Regions from separate parts of the Homo sapiens genome. Here all the other regions are linked to region 1. The links are contacts of gene promoters, found by promoter capture Hi-C in blood cells and fetal thymus (Javierre and others, 2016). All regions are on one chromosome and are shown on one strand. Each heading gives the region's core, a stretch centred on a gene start or on the middle of the fragment in contact. The rest is flanking DNA. Distances are from core to core; before and after follow the strand shown.

The links. The method cuts DNA at HindIII sites, captures the fragments that hold promoters and counts their contacts. A CHiCAGO score of 5 or more calls a contact.
Region 2: a fragment that was not itself captured here is called in contact with the fragment with the promoter of UNC119B in region 1 in 1 of 17 cell types (M1 macrophages); the score reaches 5.4 in M1 macrophages.
Region 3: the fragment with the promoter of GCN1 here is called in contact with the fragment with the promoter of UNC119B in region 1 in 1 of 17 cell types (non-activated CD4 T cells); the score reaches 5.1 in non-activated CD4 T cells.

Annotation. Positions count from the first base shown.
Region 1 is chr12:120,708,948-120,712,218 of GRCh38, forward strand. UNC119B (unc-119 lipid binding chaperone B) reads left to right here and starts at 1,511. Exons shown (of 5, transcript NM_001080533.3): 1 at 1,511-1,771. The coding sequence starts at 1,528. It overlaps LOC124903036 (a long non-coding RNA gene), which reads right to left and starts at 1,559. Exons shown (of 2, transcript XR_007063491.1): 1 at 1,490-1,559; 2 at 986-1,327. RefSeq lists silencers at 1,401-1,460, 1,551-1,820 and an enhancer at 1,428-2,270. The HindIII fragment of the contact is 2,396 bases long and covers 109-2,504 here.
Region 2 is chr12:121,233,159-121,236,429 of GRCh38, forward strand. It overlaps P2RX4 (purinergic receptor P2X 4), which reads left to right. Exons shown (of 12, transcript NM_002560.3): 12 at 365-948. The coding sequence ends at 391. Among named protein-coding and RNA genes, the nearest start is that of P2RX4, 25 kb to the left of the region's middle. RefSeq lists an enhancer at 584-1,211. The HindIII fragment of the contact is 6,150 bases long and covers 1-3,271 here.
Region 3 is chr12:120,192,947-120,196,217 of GRCh38, forward strand. It overlaps GCN1 (GCN1 activator of EIF2AK4), which reads right to left and starts at 1,769. Exons shown (of 58, transcript NM_006836.2): 1 at 1,734-1,769. The coding sequence starts at 1,751. RefSeq lists a silencer at 1,477-2,066. The HindIII fragment of the contact is 5,843 bases long and covers 805-3,271 here.

The DNA of each region.
Region 1 (3,271 bases), core at 261-2,760:
CGGTAGACCACATCCCCCTGTTGACCCACTTCTGGCTAATTGGTGAGGTCATGGCTAACTTCCAAAGCTCAGTGCAGATATTGCCTCTGAAAACTTCCGAAGCCCTCAAGCTTTTACAGCCAGGTCAGAATAAACCACTCCTGTGTGTTCTCCTAGCACCTTTGCTGCATCTCTTAGTGCAGTCAGTGAATCTAGTTTGTCTTCCAGTTCATACTAACCTACCTTGTGAAAAGGAAGGGTCACATAATGAATTGTGTACTTTACAGTCTTCTCTAACAAAAGTGGGAGCTCTTCCATAGTGGGATACTGTTCAGGCTCTCATTCAATCATTACTGAGCACCTACCACGTGTCAGGCATTAGCTGAACTGCTGGGAATTCAGGGGTGAGGCAGACCCAATCCCTGCCCTCACTCTTACATCTCCTGTAGCCTAGCCCAATGTCTAGCCCAGGGCCTGGCACAGTAGGGCTTACGGATGGCAATCTCATTGGAAAGTTTGTCTTGAAACTGCCTTTGCAAAACAAACACTGCTTTAACTTACCTTCTATGCTAAATATATTAATAAACATTTTCTCAAGATGCATTGTCCACTAATAGCTTAGTGTTGAAGAACAGGCCTTGGGTCAGATGGACCTGGATTAAAATCCCTGTTCCCTCCTCTTACTGCTTGAGGGACTTTGGACATGTTACCTGACTTCTCTGAACTTGAGCTTCCTGATCTGTAAAATGGAGACAGTAATACCTCACAGGGTTGTTGTGAGGTGAGGAGCCTGCCCTATAGCAAGTGTCCTGCCATATAGCAAGTGCGCAGTAAACACTGGCCATTCTTCTTCTTGGTGTGATTACTGGGAATTAGTTGCCATTGTGCTGTTGGGACTGGTGACAGAACTCTTGGATTGAGAATGCCGAGATGGTGCACGGAAGATTCTGTGTGCTCTTTCAGACCAGGAGGAGGATGAGGAGGAGGAAAGTTTATATGACGTAAATTCATTTGACCGTAAGATATGTATTTAAACATCGTGGAGGATCTTGGGGGTCTGATGGGGAGTGGGGTTGCTGAAGCTCCAGCCACCCCTAGGCCCTCCACCTGGCAGGACCAAAGTTGGGGCAGTAGCCGAAGCACCGCCCCCCGGGCCCCGCAGGAGTGTGCAGTCACCCAGTTAGGCCTATCTTGGCCTGCCCATCACTCCTGGCCTGCGGTCTCCTAACCCTGTGGCAGCAGCAGCATTCCCTGAATGGATCGAAGGCTGCCATGGTGTCGTCCGCTGAATTGCTATAGGAGTCAGCCCAGGGCTGCTCATGTGCACCTCAGGTTGCTGATGGCAGCTCTAGTTATTTGGGGATGGAAGTTTGGGGAGAGTGGGCCTTGGTCCACCCTGTGCGAAAGGGAATTCCACAGCCCCCCGGGCGCCCGCCCCCGCCCCCGCCCCGCCCCCTCCCCGCCCCTTCCCCGCCGGGCCCCGGGCCCCGCCCCCGCTCTCCATAGTTACCGCGCTGTGGAGGCGGCGGCCATCTTGGCGGCGGAGCGATGAGCGGGTCTAACCCGAAGGCTGCGGCCGCGGCGTCGGCGGCTGGGCCCGGGGGGCTGGTGGCTGGCAAGGAGGAGAAGAAGAAGGCGGGCGGCGGCGTCCTGAACCGCCTGAAGGCGCGGCGGCAGGCGCCCCACCACGCGGCCGACGACGGCGTCGGGGCAGCGGTCACGGAGCAGGAGCTGCTGGCGCTGGACACCATCCGGCCCGAGCACGTCCTGCGCCTCAGCCGGGTCACCGAGAGTGAGTGCCGCGCGGGCCGCGCCCTCCCCTCGCGCCGTGCCCCGGCTCCCGGAGCCTTCAGCGGACCCGGCCACTTGACCAGCGCGGGGGTCCCCGCCAGACCCCCTCGGCCGGCCGGGCCGCGCTTCCCGCTGCCCCGCCGGCCGGGCTTTGCTCCCGCCACGCTCACGTAGCTCTGGTGGGGAAGGACTCTCCTGGGCTGGACCGCATTCCTGTGAGTCCGGCCACGCTAGGATGCCCTTCGGCCGGTCGGCTCCCCAGCTCTGCCGGACCTGTTTGGGTAGAGGGCCCCGTTCAGCTGAACTGGATCCTCCTGAGCCGGCCGGGGGCCGAGGTCCCCTAATAAATGGGCCCCTGGGCCCTCAGCCTGGAACCCCCGGCCATCAGTGAAGTTCCCGCTCAGCCAGGCTCCCCCAGCCCTCTGGCAGGCCAGAAGCCTTACCTGCTTCCTCCGCCCTGGCCCCATGGCAGCCCTCCCCCATTGCAGCCTGCCCGGCCTCCCTCCCTCTTTGGGTCGGGAGCGTTGCCCCTTAGTGTGCAGATGGGTTCTTCCTCAAAACACATAGCCGTGGCATTTCCTGCTCATTTAAAACTGTGCCACATTAAAACAAAAATAAAGTTTCAGTTTGTGTACAGACTCCGACATGTGAATCCTGCTTTTGACATTCTCGTGAATTAAGAATGATTTCAGAGTTTCAGAAATGCGTTTCCTGCACAAAAGGCAACCATCCTAAGCTTTTTCGTTGATAGGAGGATGGGTGGGAAGAAAAATGTTGCCCAGTCCCTGCCCTGGGTGATCTCCCTTTTTCTGTTCTCTGCCAAGCCAGTCCCTGACTTGACGTCTTTTCTCTTGCTGCTGTTTTCCCTGCAGGAGTGTGCACTCACCTAGTTAGGCCTATCTTGGCCTGCCCATCACTCCTGGCGTGCAGTCTCCTAACCCTGTGGCAGCAGCAACATTCCCTGGATGGATCGAAGGCTGCCATGGTGTCTGCTGAGCTGCTATAGCAGGCAGCCCAGGGCTGTTCAGGTGCACCTCAGGTTGCCGATTGCAGCTCTAGTAATTTGGGGATGGAAATTTGGGGGGAGTAGGCCTTGGTCCACCCTGTGCGAAAGGGAATTCCCATTTCCTAAAAGAGTTTTAATTTGATTCTAGATATTTGGATGCCCCCGTTTCCCAATACTGTTTGGGTTGAGACTGTCCTTACCAGACCTGAACGTATCTTTAGACATTCTTGTTAGTTTTATTGAAACAGTGTGAAAAAGCTTCTTTTCTTCTGAACCAGTTTTCATTTGGGGCTCTGAAAGTACAGATGCTCAGCACCTGGTCTTGGTAACCTCATGCCCTCTCCTGCCATCCAAGTGAGTTAGGGTATTCTGTGCCTGGCCCTAAGCAGGATTCTCAGTGGGCACTCAGATCCTATCTGGGGGCTTGGGATTGTTGCTCATTGTCCAAACCCACCTCTGCAGCTTCTTAGAGTCTGGCAACCTCTTTGTTACTCT
Region 2 (3,271 bases), core at 251-2,750, 520 kb after region 1:
GGGCCTGTCTGGGGAGGCCCTTCTGCAGAGGCTGGCACCAGTGTGGCGTGGTGTCCCCGTTAACCCGGGCAGTCCTGCCACTCTCAGCAGCTGCTCCATCCCTAGGCCCCTGTACTAGATTGACTCTTTAAACCCAGCCTCGTTTCAATGAGCGACATCTCAGGTTGGTGATGATAATGCATGCTCTGAGAATGCCTGTGGGCACACACTACTTCAGTGCACCTTGCGGAACAGGAAGGGTTGGGTTCCAGGCCTGGGACCAACTTGAGAACCCCTGGCGGTGAAGTCCCAGGAGCGCACCTCCCTCCCGCCTGCCACAAGGGGTCCCAGGGGCACCTTGATCTGCTTGTGTCCTTCTTTGCAGGGTCTTGCTAGTGAGCTGGACCAGTGAGGCCTACCCCACACCTGGGCTCTCCACAGCCCCATCAAAGAACAGAGAGGAGGAGGAGGGAGAAATGGCCACCACATCACCCCAGAGAAATTTCTGGAATCTGATTGAGTCTCCACTCCACAAGCACTCAGGGTTCCCCAGCAGCTCCTGTGTGTTGTGTGCAGGATCTGTTTGCCCACTCGGCCCAGGAGGTCAGCAGTCTGTTCTTGGCTGGGTCAACTCTGCTTTTCCCGCAACCTGGGGTTGTCGGGGGAGCGCTGGCCCGACGCAGTGGCACTGCTGTGGCTTTCAGGGCTGGAGCTGGCTTTGCTCAGAAGCCTCCTGTCTCCAGCTCTCTCCAGGACAGGCCCAGTCCTCTGAGGCACGGCGGCTCTGTTCAAGCACTTTATGCGGCAGGGGAGGCCGCCTGGCTGCAGTCACTAGACTTGTAGCAGGCCTGGGCTGCAGGCTTCCCCCCGACCATTCCCTGCAGCCATGCGGCAGAGCTGGCATTTCTCCTCAGAGAAGCGCTGTGCTAAGGTGATCGAGGACCAGACATTAAAGCGTGATTTTCTTAATCCCTGTCTGTTGTCTCATAGCATGTGCTAGAACTTTCCTTCCTACCCTTTTACGACAACCAGTAAATCCACTATTCCGGCTCACTGTGCTCAGAAAAGGTCCATGGGATGGTCTGTTTCTGGCACTTATGCACATTTTCCCCTACTTCTTTATTTATTTATTTTATTTTTGAGGCAGAGTCTCACTCTGTCGCCCAGGCTGGAGCGCAGTGGTGCAATCTCGGCTCATTGCAACCTCTGCCTCCCGGGTTCAAGCGATTCTCCTGCCTCAGCCTCCCGAGTAGCTGGGATTACAGGTGCATGCCACCATGCCCGGCTAATTTTTGTATTTTTAGTAGAGACAGGGTTTCACCACATTGGCCAGCCAGGCTGGTCTCGAACTCCTGACCTCAAATGATCCATCTGCCTTAGCCTCTCAAAGTGATTGGATTACAGGTGTGCGCCACCACACCTGGCCTATTTATTTTTTTTATTACCCAGGCTGGAGTGCAGTGGCGCAATCACTGCTCACTGCAGTCTCCACCTCCTGGGCTTAAGCGATCCTCCTACCTCAGCCTCCCATAGTGCTGGGATTACAAGCATGAGCCACTGCACCCAGCTGCCTACTTTTTAAAGCCTAATAATTTGTCATTAGCTTGTCTTCCTGCACAGTTCACAGGACACTTTTTCTCTAGTGACATCTTACCTGTGCCTCCATTTTGACATAAAATTACAATTCTATGCTGTGGGTAACACAATTTTTGGTAACATGGAAGTGGCTTCCTCTCCCTTCCCTGTTTGCTTCCCAAAAGTCTCCAACCAAAAGCAGCAGCACGCATACCTAGCTCCGCACAGGTTCGAAATGTTCATGAAGCTATTTCCAGCTGCAGCTTCACACCAACTAAATGTTTGTGTTTTTTTGTTTTTGAGACAGAGTCTTGCCCTATTGCCCAGGCTGGAGTGCAGTGGCATGATCTCGGCTCACTGCAACCTCTGCCTCCTGGGTTCAAGCAATTCTCCTGCCTCAGCCTCCCAAGTAGCTGGGATTACAGGCATCTGCCACCACACCCAGCTAATTTTTGTATTTTTAGTAGAGACAGAGGTTCACCATGTTGGCCAGGCTGGTCTGGAACTCCTGACCTCATGATCCACCGCCTCAGCCTCCCAAAGTGCTGGGATTACAGGCGTGAGCCACTGCACCCAGCCACACACCAGCTGAATTCTGCATCAGGTATTCAGAATCCCCCTAGAGGAAGCAGTTTGCCCTTCGCCTCTGCCATGAATTCACTTCCAAGTACTGAGAGGAACCATTATTTTACAAATACTCTGCTTCTGCTGGATAAATGGCCAACCTGGGCTTTTCTTGCTTTTGGAAAAAAAAAAAAAAGTTTACCAACTCCCTTTATTGAAGCTCTGGTTCATGCTGCCTTTTAAAAAAAAATGCTTGTTGCCTGTAATCCCAGGACTTTGGGAGGCCAAGGTGGATCACTTAAGCGTAGGCATTCAAGACCAGCCCAGTCAACATGGTGAGACCCTATCTCTACAAAAAATTAAATTAGCCGGGTGTGGCGGTATATATCTGTAGTCCCAGCTACTTGGGTGGCTGAGGCCGGAGGATCACTTGAGCCCAGGAGGTTGAGGCTGCAGTGAGCTATGATGGTGCCACTGTACTCCAGCCTGGGCACCAAAGTGAGACCCTGTCTGAAAAAATAAAAAGTGCTTGCTTAGGCACATGGGTCAAATGAAGCTGGAATGTTTAGGAATGGTGATATGGGCTGAATGTGTCTACCAAAATTCACATTTTGGAAACTTCATCCCCAAGGCAACCTTATTGGGAGGTGAAGCCTTGGGGAGGTGACTGAGTCAGGATTGCGCTGCCCTCATGAATGGGGTTGGTGCCCTATACGAGGGCTAGAGAGGGAGCTCATCCCCCGTCTGCCTTGCCACTGTCTGCCACGCGAGGACAAGTGTTCCTCCCTCCAAAGGATGCGGCACCAAGGCACCCTCTTGGAAGCAGAGAGCAGCCCTCACCAGATACCAAACCTGCCAGCACCTTGATCTTGAACTTCCTGGCCTCCAGAAATGTGAGAAATCAATTATTGTTCTTTATAAATTACCCAGTCTTAGGTCCCTGTAACAGCAGCACAAAACAGACTTAAGGGCAATGGGTGTGTTTATGATCTTGCTCGTCAAGGAGTGATGGTCACTGGCTGTCTTCCGAAGTGGGGGAGATGCTGTTTAGCCTCTTTTCTAAAACAAATGTGAAAGCAAGCCAGTGTTGGGGTGAGGGGCGGGTGTGTTTCTAGATGCCATGAACACCAGCAGGAGGCTGGGTGTGGTGATG
Region 3 (3,271 bases), core at 519-3,018, 520 kb before region 1:
AATTGCTTGAACCTGGGAGGCAGAGGTTGCAGTGAGTTCAGATCGTGCCATTGCACTCCAGCCTGGGCAACAAGAGAGAAACTCCGTCTCAAAAAATAAAATAAAATAATAAAAAATAATTTCAGGCCAGGTGCGGTGGCTCACGCCTGTAATCCCAGCACTTTGGGAGGCCAAGGCAGAAGGATCACCTGAGGTCAGGAATTCGAGACCAGCCTGGCCAACATGGAGAAACCCCATCTCTACTAAAAATACAAAAATTATAAAATACAGAAATATTCTCCTGCACCACCCAATACGGTAGCCACTGGCTACATGTGGCTAACTGTGCACTGAAATGTGGCTGGTACAAGTGAAGAACTAAATTTTTTTTTTTTTTGAGACAGAGTCCCACTCTTGTTGCTCAGGCTGGAGCGCAGTGGTGCGATCTCAGCTCACTGCAACCTCTGCCTCCCAGGTTCAAGCGATTCTCATGCCTCAGCCTCCTGAGTAGCTGGAATTACAGACATGCCACCATACCCGGTTAATTTTTTGCATTTTTAGTAGAGACGGGGTTTTGCCACGTTGGTCAGACTAGTCTCAAACTCCTGACCTCAACTGATCCACCCGCCTTGGCCTCCCAAAGTGCTGGGATTACAGGGTGAGCCACCACGCCCAGCCAAACAATGAATTTTTTTATTTAATTTAATTTTAACAAACTTAAGCCATGTGGCTGCCATACTGGACATTGCAGCTCTAGAGATTTTTCCCTCAAGTGAGTATCAATGTTAAACATTCAGCATGTATTCCCCTAACCCTCTCATACTAAGCTTTTCTTTCTAGTATTCAGTACAACATAACTTGAACATCAGCCACCTGCATAGGAGTCTCAGTAAATGTCTTTTTGAATGCTTAAGTGGTCATTTTCTGGGCCTACACATAAAAATCAATCCCATCACCCTGGAGACACCAAATCAGCCCAGCTGTCCTTAGACACCTGTTCTTCCCCTGCCTCATGACAATGTCTTTTCACCTTAAAACATAACAACTGGGTGGAGGAAAAGGTTTTCCCAGGTCCTTCCTGAACTACAAGGTACCCATAGGTAACACTCTTCCTGGACAGGACAGTTCTTTTCACTAACCCTGGATCTGATAACAACCAACATATATCAAGCCGTATTTTATCTCACTGAACCTTCACAACAACCTTTTAAGATAAGTATTGTTTTAACTTCATTTTATAGATGAAAAGGCAGACTTGGCGGGGTTAAGTCACTTGTTTGGCATGTCACAGAAATCGACGAGCAGGAACTCAAGCCCAGATCTGTATGAATCCAAAGACTACACTCAAAGTCCCTGCTCATAGTAGGTGCTCAAAGAATATTTGCTGAATACAAAGTTTAAGGAAGACTTGGCGTTGGCCCGGGGCTCACAGCCGGAGGGCTTTGGAGAAAAGAAGTAGAGGCTCGGTAAAGTGAACTTCTGCAACTCTGGGGTCGGGCAAAGGCCCCGCCGAGCTCCAGCTGCTGAAGTCGAGGCGGGAGCCCCGGACTCCTCGAGCCCGCGGTCTGCCTGCGCCGCCCGGGCCGGGCCAAGCCCGCAGCCCTGAGAGTCCAGCCTGAGACGGCCCCGAGACTACGACCTCCACAGCCACCACCTCCAACGCCCCTAAGCCGAGGAGCGAGAGGGGCCCCGCCCGACGGCCACCGTCCGCACCCAGTCCCTGGCCGCGTTGGCCCCGCAGCCGCCCGCCTCACCTGCGTGTCCGCCGCCATCCTGCCGGGGCTGACTCCGGAACCGCTTCCGGAACGCTTCCGGGTCACAGCGTGGCCCACGCGGCAGGGCGAGGCCGGGAGCCAGCGGGGGCAGGGCCCCGGGCTTGGTGCCCCCGGGCAGGACGGCGGCCGCTGCAGCCCGGGCAGCCGGATCACGGGCTTAAAGTTGGCCCGCGCCCGAGCCACAAGGCCTCCTCCCCAGGGCCCGCTCTTCAGCCCCGGGCGCCTCGTGGGAGACTAGCGCTTGTAACGTGGTGAGCCCGCGGTGTAACGCTATGGGCCCGCCTTGCAGCCCCTGACCCACTTCCAGCCCGCAGGGCCAGCCCTACGTGGGCCTTTCCTGAGTGATGACTAAGTTCTTTAGAAAAACAAGTGTTGCTTCCTAGATAGCAGGAACTAAAAACTAGGTAAAAGAGTCGGTGAACTAGTCTTTTGTCCTCAGTTTGTAGTTCAGTTGGCGGATGACTTGTACAGGGTTAGCAAACGTGGCTGGATACGGAGGTCAGGGAAGGTTCAGAACTGAACGAGGCCCCTGCCCTGGGGAAATGCTGGACGCCCCAGGCTGGGAGTTTTGAAGGCCACAGGGCAAGAGGCTACGTGCAGACGTGGCTGCAATTTAGGGAACAGGGTCTCCACAGCTTAGTTGTCAGCCCTGTTAGCAGTGGCTTTCAAACCTTTGACACAGACCTAGTTAGAATGAATATATCATGTTCCAGCAGACAGATCTCTAAGTGAAATACAGGAATCACAACAAAAACACCTATTCTCAGCAGATGCTGCTTTCTCTTTAAATACTGGGGCCAGGCATGGTGGCTCACGCCTGTAATCCCAGCACTTTGGGAGGCTGAGGTGGGTAGATCAACCTGATGTTAGGATTTCCAGACCAGCCTGGTCAACATGACAAAACCTTGTCTCTACTAAAAATACCAAAAAAAAAAAAAAAAAAAAAAAAGGCCGGGTGCGGTGGCTCACCCTTGTATAATTCCAGCGCTTCGGGAGGACAGGGCGGGCAGATCACAAGGTCAGGAGTTCCAGACCAGCCTGGCCAACATAGTGAAACCCCGTCTCTACTAAAAGTACAAAAATTAGCCGAGTGGTGGCACATGCCTGTAGTCCCAGCTACTGGGGAGGCTGAGGTGGGAGAACCGCTTGAACCCGAGAGGCAGAGGTTGCAGTGAGCTGAGACCATACCATTGCACTCCAGTCTGGGTGACAGGACGAGACTGTCTCAACAACAAAAAAATTAGCCCGGTGTGGTGGCAGCCTCCGGTAATTGCAGCTACTTGGGAGGCTGAGGCAGGAGAATCACTTGAACCCAGGAGGCGGAGGTTGCAGTGAGCCAAGTCCAAGCCACTGCACCCCAGTCTCAAATATATTTGAGACTATCTCGAAAATATAAATTGGTTACCACCGAGTTGGAGCACCACCCAGTTTGAAAAACTTTACTCTAGGGGACTGGCCCCAGCATCCACCAGGTGCCTATCTCAGCTGACACTAAACCTACTCCAAGTATGCAGCAG